Regions from separate parts of the Homo sapiens genome. Here all the other regions are linked to region 1. The links are contacts of gene promoters, found by promoter capture Hi-C in blood cells and fetal thymus (Javierre and others, 2016). All regions are on one chromosome and are shown on one strand. The core of a region is centred on a gene start or on the middle of the fragment in contact, and the rest is flanking DNA. Distances in the headings are between cores, read along the strand shown.

What was found. Contacts are between HindIII fragments. The CHiCAGO score rates a contact against its expected background, and 5 or more counts as called.
Region 2: a fragment that was not itself captured here is called in contact with the fragment with the promoter of MDFI in region 1 in 1 of 17 cell types (M2 macrophages); the score reaches 5.3 in M2 macrophages.
Region 3: a fragment that was not itself captured here is called in contact with the fragment with the promoter of MDFI in region 1 in 10 of 17 cell types (M1 macrophages, naive CD8 T cells, activated CD4 T cells and 7 more); the score reaches 7.6 in M1 macrophages.
Region 4: a contact is called between a fragment that was not itself captured here and the fragment with the promoter of MDFI in region 1, in 1 of 17 cell types (total CD8 T cells). The highest score is 5.1, in total CD8 T cells.

The regions. Positions count from the first base shown.
Region 1 is chr6:41,637,138-41,639,837 of GRCh38, forward strand. MDFI (MyoD family inhibitor) reads left to right here and starts at 1,331. Exons shown (of 5, transcript NM_005586.4): 1 at 1,331-1,515; 2 at 1,602-1,688. The coding sequence starts at 1,613. The HindIII fragment of the contact is 14,281 bases long and covers 1-2,700 here.
Region 2 is chr6:41,458,714-41,461,494 of GRCh38, forward strand. The region is part of intron 2 of LOC112267957 (a long non-coding RNA gene); the gene reads right to left. Among named protein-coding and RNA genes, the nearest start is that of LINC01276, 42 kb to the right of the region's middle. The HindIII fragment of the contact is 2,142 bases long and covers 219-2,360 here.
Region 3 is chr6:41,391,246-41,393,945 of GRCh38, forward strand. No RefSeq gene overlaps it. Among named protein-coding and RNA genes, the nearest start is that of NCR2, 57 kb to the left of the region's middle. The HindIII fragment of the contact is 1,934 bases long and covers 315-2,248 here.
Region 4 is chr6:41,410,610-41,413,309 of GRCh38, forward strand. No RefSeq gene overlaps it. Among named protein-coding and RNA genes, the nearest start is that of NCR2, 76 kb to the left of the region's middle. The HindIII fragment of the contact is 3,762 bases long and covers 1-2,700 here.

The DNA of each region.
Region 1 (2,700 bases), core at 81-2,580:
CCCGCCCCACCTTCCTCCGGGCCGCAACCACCCCAGCCCATCGCTGGGACGTGGCCGCGGGTGCCGAGAGCGCTGCCGGCGCCGTGGGGGCCATCCCGGTCCTGGCCCCGACGGCGCCCCAGGACCTGCGATAGCCGTAAGTAGCGACTATGGGGGCTAGGAGAGTCCAAGAAGTGGGGAGCTGGGACGCCCGGCCTCCTGCGTCCCAGCTCTCCACTTCCAGACCCGGCTGGACTCGGGACTAGAAAAGGTGGCCTGGTGCCGCCGCTGCCTTCCAGTGTGCTCACTGGCCCTCGTGGCGGGGAGCCCAGACGCGGCTCCTAGGCGGCCCTAGACAAGTACGGCCGAGACGCTGTCACCCCAGGGGGCTGCCCCACCTGAGCATCATCCCACGGGCCCGCCCAGCCCCACCTGGAGAGCCGCAGGCTCCAAAGTCTTCCCCATTCTCGGGGACCAGGTTCCGGGGTCGCGCTGAGGGCCCCTGAACCCTCTTGGACTGCCTGGCAGCGGCTTCTTCCTACCACCACGGCTCACCATCCAGACGCGCCGCCCGGCTGGCCCCACCGGGAGAGGCTCCCTCCCTCCCCTTTCTCCCCGAACCCTCATCTTAGAAGCCCTCGGATTCAGTCTGGATCCCAAAGAAGGGCTGAATTCGGAGGACCTCTCTTTGCCCCCAAAGTCGGTTTTCTGACACACATTCCCACGCACAGCTGGTAGGGGCAGGAGGGTCGAGGATGCTCTGGGCTGCTGCGGCACAGGGCAGGCTGGTTGGTCACTAACCGGATTTCCCGGACAGACAACTCTGGCGCTGTGGGCGGGTGGCCTGGGAGCCCAGATCCCTGTCCCTGGCTTAGGACCCCGGGAGGAGACCGAGGGGGTGGGTAAAACGTGACTGAGAAACTTGATCGCGCCCATCTTTGGGGCAAAGAGATTTGGAGGCCGCAATTATTCAGACAGTTCCACGAAGTGGTTGAGGTTTCTCTCTTTCTCCTGATTTTCCAGAAACTTTTGCAGAGTTTGGACAGGCAAAGGAAAACGTGCAGCCCGCGGATCTCCGGGCCTCAGAGAGCAGGGAGTCGGGGAGACTGAGGCCCCGCTCCGAGAGCGCGGAGGAAGCGCGCCCAGCCGGCTTCCTGTGGGGGCTCGGGCCTCGGGCGCCCCGCGGACAGACGTGTCCGGCTCCTGGCTGGGCCAAGCCCGGCGCGGGGGAGGGGACCCGCAGAGGGGCGACTGAGAAGGCGAGGAGGGGGCGGGGAGAGGGTGGGCCAGGGAAGAGGGGAGGGGAGAGGCGAGTAGGGGAGGAGCGAGGGGGGCTGGAGGGAGAGAAGGAAGAAGGAAGGGGCGAACGGCGTGAGCTGGCGCCGAAATGGGAGAAAGCAGCGAGTGAGAGGGGAAGGGGCGCCAGGCGAGCACCCGGGAGCCAGCGGGACCTGGGCAGGGGCGCCCGGAGCAGGCGCGCATGGCGGGCCCCGCGCGGGGATCCGGCTGGAAGAGAGCGTAGCACGGCTCGCACGAGTGAGTGGACGTGGGAGGCGCGCATCTGCGGGGGAATCGCCCCTTGCCCGCCTCCGGCGCCGCCCGCTGAGCCCTGTTTTCCGCAGGTCCGGGGCCGATGTACCAGGTGAGCGGCCAGCGCCCCTCTGGCTGCGACGCGCCCTATGGAGCCCCCAGCGCAGCCCCGGGCCCAGGTAGGACCGGGAGTGGCGAGCGAAGCTGGACAGGGGCGGGTGGGCGGCTGAAGGGGCCAGTTATTAGTTCTCCTCTCCGTCCCCAGACGCGGGGAGACCGTTCCAGGGAGCTTGGTGGGGGTAGGGACGAAAAGTCTGGGTTTGAGGACTTGGTCCAAGGAGAGTAGGGGGCTGGGCGAGGGAGGCAGGGCCCTGAACAGAGGCTGCGGCTGCGCCAAGTTGGCTCCAACTCCCCGCAACTCCCGACACCAGACACACACACACACACACACAAACACACACACATACACTCCGCGGTGTCTGTCCGTCTGGGATTTGTGTCTCAACTGTTTCTGCCCAGTGTGTAAATATTTGTGGGGGCCTGGTGTGGGGGAGGGGGCGTTGTCTGAATCTTTCTCTACTTCCCTTCCCCCAGCCCAACCAGAGCCCAGCGCTTCCCGAAAACTTTTGTCTGCCGCGAGCGGCTGCAGGACCCAGCCCCTCCCCTCTTTCTTGCCATCCCTTCTCCCTCGCCTTCCTTCCCTCTCGTGCCGGCCAGTCCCCGCCGCCCCTGCCCTGTGCACACACACGCACCCCAACCCAGTGTCTTCAGCCCAAGTGAAATGCCCCGTCCCGCGCCTGGCGCCGTCTGTAACCTACCCGCGATTCCTGGGGGAGCCTCTCACGCCAAGTACGGTTTGTGACTCCCTGAAGGGGTTTGGAGTAGGGGCCTCGCCGGCCCTGGTTCTCAGTCCCTTCCCCTCACTGGCCAGATGCCTAAGCCGAAGCTCCCAAATGGAAGTCCGGGTCAAGGAGAAGTCAGGAACCTCTGGGATGTGTTCAGGGCCAGGGGAACCGCGTGCAGGAGTGTGGACCCGGATTTCATAATTGGAATCTCCACTGTCTAAGTCGTTGCCTTCCTCCCCACCAGCGCCATTCCCCCTTTCCCCTCTTTGACTCTGAATAATGAAGGTCTGTTCCTGAACCTCTGACACGAACTCCCTGCCTTGCCTTGGACAAGCTCCTTCCCTTC
Region 2 (2,781 bases), core at 40-2,539, 180 kb before region 1:
CTTCCTGAAGGGTCTCATTCATTCACAAACACTTAATGAACACCTACTGTGTGCCTGACACTGTTCTGAACCCTGGGAACAAAACAGACAAAAATCCTTGTCCTCATGGAGTTTTATATCATGGTGAGGGATAGAGACTAAAACAAAACAAAGAAGTCACCCCTCATATCCACATCTGCATCGTGGATTCAACCAAACATAGACAGAAAATGTAGTTAAGCTTCCAATGGTTGCACCTGTACTGAACATGTATAGACTTTTTTCTTGTTATTATTCCCTAAACAATACAACAACTATTTACATAGCATTTATATTGTATTAGTTATCATAAGTAATCTAAAGATGATTTAAAGTATATGGGAGGATGTGCACAGGTTATGTAGAAATACTATGCCATTTTATATAGGGGACCTGAGGTGCCTGGATTTTGGTATCAGCGAGGAGTCCTGCCCCATGGATGACTATAATACACAACAGTAGGTGCTACCGAGCGCTATGGCCGAAACTGCAGCACGGAAGGCAGGATGAATAGGGCCTTGAGGCCACTGTGATAATTCTGAGTGAAATGGGGAACCATTAGAGGATGCTAAGCAGAGAATGACATGATCTCTCTTAGGTTTTAGGATAATCCCTCTGGCTATCATGTGTGGATAAACTGAAGGGGGACAGATGGGGGCAAGGAGACTAGCAAGCCACACCCTGCTTGTCCTTCAAAGCTCAAGAATGGGCTGGGCATGGTGACTCACACCTGTAATCCCAGCACTTTGGGAGGCTGAGGCAGGCGGATCACCTGAGGTCAAGAGTTCGAGACCAGCCTGGCCCAACATGGTGAAACCCCATCTTTACTAAAGATACAGAAATTAGCCAGGCATGGTGGAGGGCACCTGTAATCCCAGCTACTCAGGAGGCTGAGGCAAGACAATGGCTTGAACCCGGGAAGGGGAGGTTGCAGTGAGCTGAGATCACGCCATTGCACTCCAGCCTGGGTGACAGAGTGAGATCTGTTTCAAGAAAAAATAAATTCATCTAAAAAAAAGCTCAAGAATGATCCCTTGTCTGAGTGAGGCTGCTCCGTCCTGGTCCCTGGATCACCCTTTGCTTACTTATGGACAGCCCTGGCCACACCCTACCATGACTATCTTCATCTCCTCCCTATCTGCACTGTGATCTCTGTTACCCTGGCCCACTACCTGCCCCAGAGCAAACACTCAAGCCCACTGGGAGAATGCATTAGGAATGACTGTCTATGTGACCTATAGGTCCTCTCTGCATTCCCAAAGCGGTGTCACTTCACTGTGACCTGGAGGGGAAAACAGTACAACTAGCTCATTTGAAAAAAAGGGTAAGTGAGTTCTGGGGAGCATTGATAAAGCTCAGTTTCACTGATCTGAAACAGGTGCCTTAGAGTTCCCACTTCCCCACATCTGTCTCTAGCTCAGTGTCCACCTTCTCCAGCCCCAGCCGCCTGGGAGATTCCTGGGGGTAGCCAGGTATGAGAAGGCACCTCCTCCACTGCTTCCTGTTCTCATTTAGGGTGGTCCCTGCTGGCCTTCAGGCCTGGCATTGCCTCCCACTCTGACTCCCTCCCACAGCCTGCCCATCTCCCCTCCCAGGGCTCTGAGGAGGACAGGAGCCCTGCAGAGCAACGATCCACATATCAGGAGCAAGGGAATTAACATTTCCAGGCTGTAATTATACCTTCTGCTGGTGACACCTAAGGAAGCATCTTTTTATAAAAGCAGGTAAATTGAAGGCTTATGGGACTGTGGAAAATGGGTGTATTTTTAGCTCCCTCCCCTCACCACCCTTGATTGCCAGAACCCTGGTAATTGCTCTGGCACCAGTGGTTGGAACCAAGGTGGAGGTCTCAGAGTGGGGTCAAGGGGTCATTGAGAAGGGGATCCAGGAGGCACTGAGAACCTTGCTAAGCCAAGTGGGAACCTAGGAAAGGGGCCTGGGGAAATGCTCTCTGATAGGGAATTACGGGGAAGAGTCGTTCGTGAGCAGGTGGAGAGTACATTTTAAAAATTATATATAGCAATAGTAATAATAGTAACAATAACAATAATAGTAATGATATCTGACCCTTACATCATACTTGTTAAGTGCTAGGCAGTGTTCTAAATGCTTTTTGTAAATTAACTCATTAATCCTCACAACAATCATGTGAAGTAGGCACAGCTATTATCCCCATTTTGCAGATGAGAAAACCAAGGCATACAAAATTTAAGTGTAATTTTGAGTTAGACATTGGAGTTACATATGTGCATCTCTACACACACACAAGTTTGCTGATTTTAATGGGTGAATGAATGAATTCCCTCACTTTGTATTCCCCAGATATTTACAAAGAGGTCTAAAGCTTAGCCAATCAAAAAGCTCTGAACAGTTAGGAAGTCCCTCCCTTTTAAGGTGGGGTCTGATCCCACTTCCTGTTCTCCTCTTAAGATCTTGACATCCCACTGGTGCAAAGTCAACCATCTTGGTTAGTGGGCAGCCCCACCATGTTCTTAAGCACAGAACAGTGGAGCAAGAGGCTGTGATGAGATGCTTTAGGAGCTGACAGCAGGAGCCCTGGAGCTTGCAGGATCTCTGGCCATTTAGGGAACTAGCTGGAAAAGTGGATCTGCTGATATCAGAGAAAATGTGTGGGGAGAGGAGAAGAAGGATGAAATAGGGTCTCCCTAGATGTTGTCCAGTGGTAGCTGCTATCTAGGGACACCCCTTCTTCAAGCAAGGACATCAGCGTAGAAAAGGCTCCAGAGAGGGAGAGGCGGGGAG
Region 3 (2,700 bases), core at 32-2,531, 250 kb before region 1:
ATACAGAAGATTAATAATTAGTATGGCACTGGACTTCTCAAAACTAACAGTAGGGGCTGGGCACAGTGGCTCATGCCTGCAATCCCAGCGCTTTGGGAAGCTGATAACTGGCGGCCAGGAGTTCAAAATCAGCATGGGCAACATAGTGAGTCACCATCACCACAAAAAAAAAAAAAGAAAAAAAATTCAATGGATCAATCTTTGCATTCGGGAGGATATGCTCCCAAGTTAACACAACAGAAGTTTATTTCTGCTCACATAGTAGTCCTGGATGGATGTTCATGTAATAGGCAGGCACTCCTCTGTGAGACCCAAGCTTCTTCCACCTTGAGGCGCAGCCATACCACAGGCCCCCTCCTAACCTTTTTGGGGCCCTGGACCCCTTTAACTATCTGGCAGACCCTTTCTGATAACATTTTTAAATCCATAAAACAAAACACATAGTAGTATAAAGCAAAACAATTATATGGACATATAACTATCAAAATAAATAAAAACCATTGTGATATAGTAATAAATGTGTTTCTGTATTAATTGAATAAATAGTAAGACAAAACATTTAAAACATAAGTGCGTTTAAGCTACGTTTATTTTTTAAAGATATATCATTGTGAAGACTGACTACACTTGTGGCCTGCACACCTCTCAGTATTGAAGAGGGCTAAGAATTCTTATCTGACGGCCTGGTACGGTGGCTCATGCCTGTAATCTTAGCACTGTAGGAGGCCAAGGCAGGTGGATCATGAGGTCAGGAGTTCGAGACCAGCCTGGCCAACATGGCAAAACCCCATCTCTACTAAAAATACAAAAATTAGCCAGGCATGGTGGCGCATACCTGTAATCTCAGCTACTCGGGAGGCTGAGGCAGGAGAATTGCGTGAACCCAGGAGGCAGAGGTTGCAGTGAGCCAAGATCGCACCATTGCACTCCAGCCTGGGTGACAGAGCAAGATTCCATCTCCGAAAATAAATAAATAAATAATTCTTATTTGAATCATCCAGTTTTGCAAACCTCTAACAAACAATGCATCTACCTCCACATATTAATTGACCAACAATTGGAGGCAAGGACTATGGAAAGCAACATAGATTGCGAGCAAATGTGACTTCCACATTTGGTGGTGGAATGCCTCCCCTGCTCAGCATCGGCCAGTTGTGTGGCACAGCTGTCTATCAACAGGAAGACTGCAATTATGTGCAGTCTAGTGGCAGGTCTAATAACTGCCGCGGTTTCTAAGTAGTGATGAATGTAATGATATTTTGAGCTATCTGCAACAACTGTAATGTGATATGAAAATATCTGTGATTTCTACTGGTGACAAAGTCACAGATACTGCTAACACCACTGTGGTTTATTGTCTACATTTATAATAGAAAGAAATGCTCAACTAGTTTAAGGTCAGGAAAAATAAAGATGTACTTTTCCCATCCAAGTTCATAGATTTCCCTGAATTTAGGGTCTGTGGACCACAGGTTATGATGTTTCCTCTGGAGTCTTCTTGTCATATCTGCAGCCAGCCAGTAAAACAGGAAAGAGCACAGAAAACTGCACAGATGAAGTCTTTATGGACCTGTCCTGAAATTGACACATATCATTTCCACTCACATTCCACTGGGGAAAGTTTAGCCCTGTGGCTACACCTCCCTGCAAGGAAAGCTGAGAAATATAACCTTACTTTCATGCTGAGGAAGAAGAAATAACAGATTTGGATGCCCAGCCAGCAGTCTCTCTTCCACGGTCAGTGGTGTGTGTAGCCTTCTTGCCACATGTAGAAGACATCCAGTCCCTTTCCAAGGGAGTCAAAGCAAAACCCCATCTAGCCTCTGCATTCAGCTCAGTGTCCAGAACTTCTAGGTGATGTACAGTCCTTTCCAACAAGTCTGATGGAATTTCTCTTGGTCCACAGACTTACGAACTGTGCTCTACTCCCCACCCCTGCACACACCCAAAATATAGGATAATTGCAATTAAGATTGGGAGACACAGGCAGTGCCTTGTCCATAACAATGATGGAACCCTGCCAGACAAGCATTGTGAAGACCCTCTGCCCTGGCAATAGAGGGGGTTACTGCATTAGACCCTGTATCCTTTCTCTGGGAGGAGTCTCCTTGCCTTCCATGGCCCCTGCTCTGCCCTCTGGGAAATTCTCCCTTGTCTATTATCTCCTGTGGCCAGATCTGAAGGAGTTATTAGTAGTATCCCCCTTTTGGGAGTTCCCACTGCTTTTGTAGCACTTTTGGTTCATGGAAGCTTGAGGGTCCACGTGTTTTTCTGAACTTTTTAAAGACCATCTTTGTGATTTCTTGAGAAATGCAATTTCTTCCTGCAAAAAGATTTCTGATCTATTTGCTTCCCATTGGTTACATGCACCACTTACCACTTCCAAAATTCCCTATACATGGTTCTTAAATCTGTTTGAGTTCTTTTTTGCTTTTTTAGCTCCATGCCAATCCCCATTTGTTAAATATCAGCTACTGTAAGGCCATCTGTAGCAAGAGGATTATTAGAGAGACAATATCCTTAACCTGATCTTTGCTGCAGGAATAAGTCCTTTGGTTTAACTGAGAAGACTTCGTTGGTCTTTATGGCTCAAATACTTATTCAGTGTTACCACCTCCTCTGTGGGGTCTGGAAACTGTTTCTTCAACCCTTGATCTCTGCTTACAAATAGCCCAGTTCTTTCTTGAGCTCTTTTTTTCC
Region 4 (2,700 bases), core at 32-2,531, 230 kb before region 1:
GGAATGAAAGTTTCTGGAATATGGGGCTGCAAATACGCAAACCCCAGTGGAGAACAGGGGTGTAGGGGGGGTGTCTGCAGGAGCAGGCAATGAAAAAGTTTGTTGTCTGTAGGGAATTTTAAAACAATAATAAAATCTACTAAAAGTCATGTGCTTTTTCTGTTATCACCATGCGCCAGCCATTTTGTGTCAGTAATAAAATACTCCTCCCTGAAGTAAAAAAAAAAAAAAAACTCGTCTGTTGTGCTATGTTCTAAGCAATTACTGTGGTGACTGTTGAGTTTCAAATTAGCACATTTCTATTACTTATCCTTTAGTAAAGATTGTACACTACCTGATAGTTAATTTGAAGGACTCTCATGTATATAGTCAGCCCAGAATACACAGGACTCAGCTACACTCTTCATTTTGAGATTAAGTTTAAATTCAAATTCATTAGAGCTGGCTTCAGCCACAGTTTGTGTCTCAAATCCTATAGTTCTGCACATCCCTGCCTTTAAACAGTAGATTCAAAATCAACAATGATGCACAGTGATTGCAAAGACAAAGTAACAGACTCAAGCTACTTCAATTCTGTTATTCTCCATGCAAATCATTCTCTGAAACTTGCAGTTTACTCTTTTGGGAGGCTTTCCTTTTTGTTGTTATTCTTTTGTTTTGTTTTGTTTTTGTTTTTGTTTTTGAGACAGGGTCTGGCTCTGTCACCCAGGCTGGAATGCAGTGACACAATCTTGGCTCACGGCAAACTTGGGAGTCTTTCTTCATGTGTTTCTTCCCCCTACTCCCCACCCCCCAAAATTAATATAATTTTCAAGTATCAGTTGCTTTTGTCTTTTTGTACTGTAGTATTTGTTTATTTCCTGATACAATTATACAGAGTTGAATAAAAGAACAGTTACACTGTCTGACTTTTCTGGCCATTATTATTTACTTGTTATTCATCATCATGGTGATAATTTGATAATATGGGAGGTGTTAAAAATGATTTACTAAGGGTGCCTAACACATTAGGTACCCCACTGGTCTGGAAAAAAATGCCAGATCCAGTGAGTGCCCCACAAGGCCACCACTCCCTGGACCCTCGTGGCTGCCTGCTGGGGGCTGGCAGGCGGCCCGATGGGCAATGTGGACCAATGTTTCCCTCTCACCTGCCTTCCCTAGGCTCTTTCCCTGCTAAGTCCCTCCACAGCAGCCCTACCCCATCCACCCCTCATCCTTCTCTTCCCTGTCCTCTCAGCCCAGTCTCAGTTGTGACTGGGTAGGGAAGTCTCTCAGAGGAGCTAAGGTATGACCTCAGGGCTGGCACAGTTCAATGTAGGCCACAGCCTCAGCAGGACCTGAGAATGCATCCTGTTCAAGAGCCTCAGCATATTGGGGAAACTGAGGCCAAAGAGAGGCAATACCCAGCCTAAGATCCCCTAGCCGGTTAGTGGGTCAGGGCAGAGCTGGAACTCATTACTTCTGGCCTGCCTGTCTGTGTCCTTTCATGACACCACTCAGCCGTAACCTAACAAGATGGGCTAATGGGAGAACTTTAGTCATCAGCGGCAGGCCTCCCTGGGTGTTCTTTCTGGCCAGGAGGGCTGTCCTCGCGCCCTTTTCTGGCTCCAGAGTAGCCAAACTCCCAGCCTTGGGCTGCTAATGGTGCTCCTCTTGGCACAAAGGAAGAGGCTGATGGCAATTGACTCATCAAAGACATTTTGGCCCCTACTATTGCCTAGACTTGTGCTATACCCCAGAGACACAGAAATAAATAAGTCACTGCCACTGACTTCAAGAGAATAATCAAGGCATAAAGACTGGGTTTTCGATGTCACATCAGACTCAGCACAGAATGTTCAGGGTGCCCAGAACAGAACTCCTAAAGCAGGCTGGGGGCAGTATGAGAGGGCTTCCCAGAGGAGGCAGTGCTTGGGCTTGAAGGATGCCTAATAAAAGGCTGGCAAAAAGAGGTGGGAGTGTGGGTAGCTTCAGAAGAGGACACTACTCAGGGTGCCAGCTCCCCCTGGAACCTGTGGAGACCTAATCATGCAAGGCACCTTCTGCCAAGCCCTACCCCCTGTCTCAGTCCACCTCAGAACTCACCTCCAAGCAACCCATTCGGGCTTCTCTGATGCCATTGGCCTCCTTGTGCATCCGTCAGTAGGACTGGGCTCCTCTGCAGCTGGCTGTCCTCTGTTCCCTCTCTTAAGCCCCTGGGGTCCCGACCCTTGTGTCTCTTCCTGCCCATCCCCCAGCTTGGTGCAGGTTGGAGCCTTGAGCTCAGGTGGCCTTTCCCTCTTTCCATTCTCTCTTTCCTCTTCCTCTTTTTCTTCTCATTCCTTCATCCTCGGCTTTGTCATTTTCTCTCTCTCCTTGTTCCCCTGTGTAAACTGAGGGCAGGGCCAGGTGTGTGATGGAATTCTCTAGACTAGGTTCCAGGTGACCTATACCCACAGGCATCGGCCTTTCCCTGGGGAGCTGGGGTTAGCACCCAGCCAGACTCTTGGCCTAGAGCTGAGGTTGGAGGCAGGGAGTTGGGGGAGAAAGACAGTGTGACCCAGCATGGTAGGGCTGCCCCTTTTTTTCAAGAAAAGGAGATCCGAGGACTCTTCAAGGCAAAGACCTCGGCTCTCAGCACCTGTGAGTTCTACTTCCAGGAAGCCCCCTTCCCTCTCCACTCCCCCCTTCCCAGTTCTGCTGCTGCTGAGGTGGCTCCTG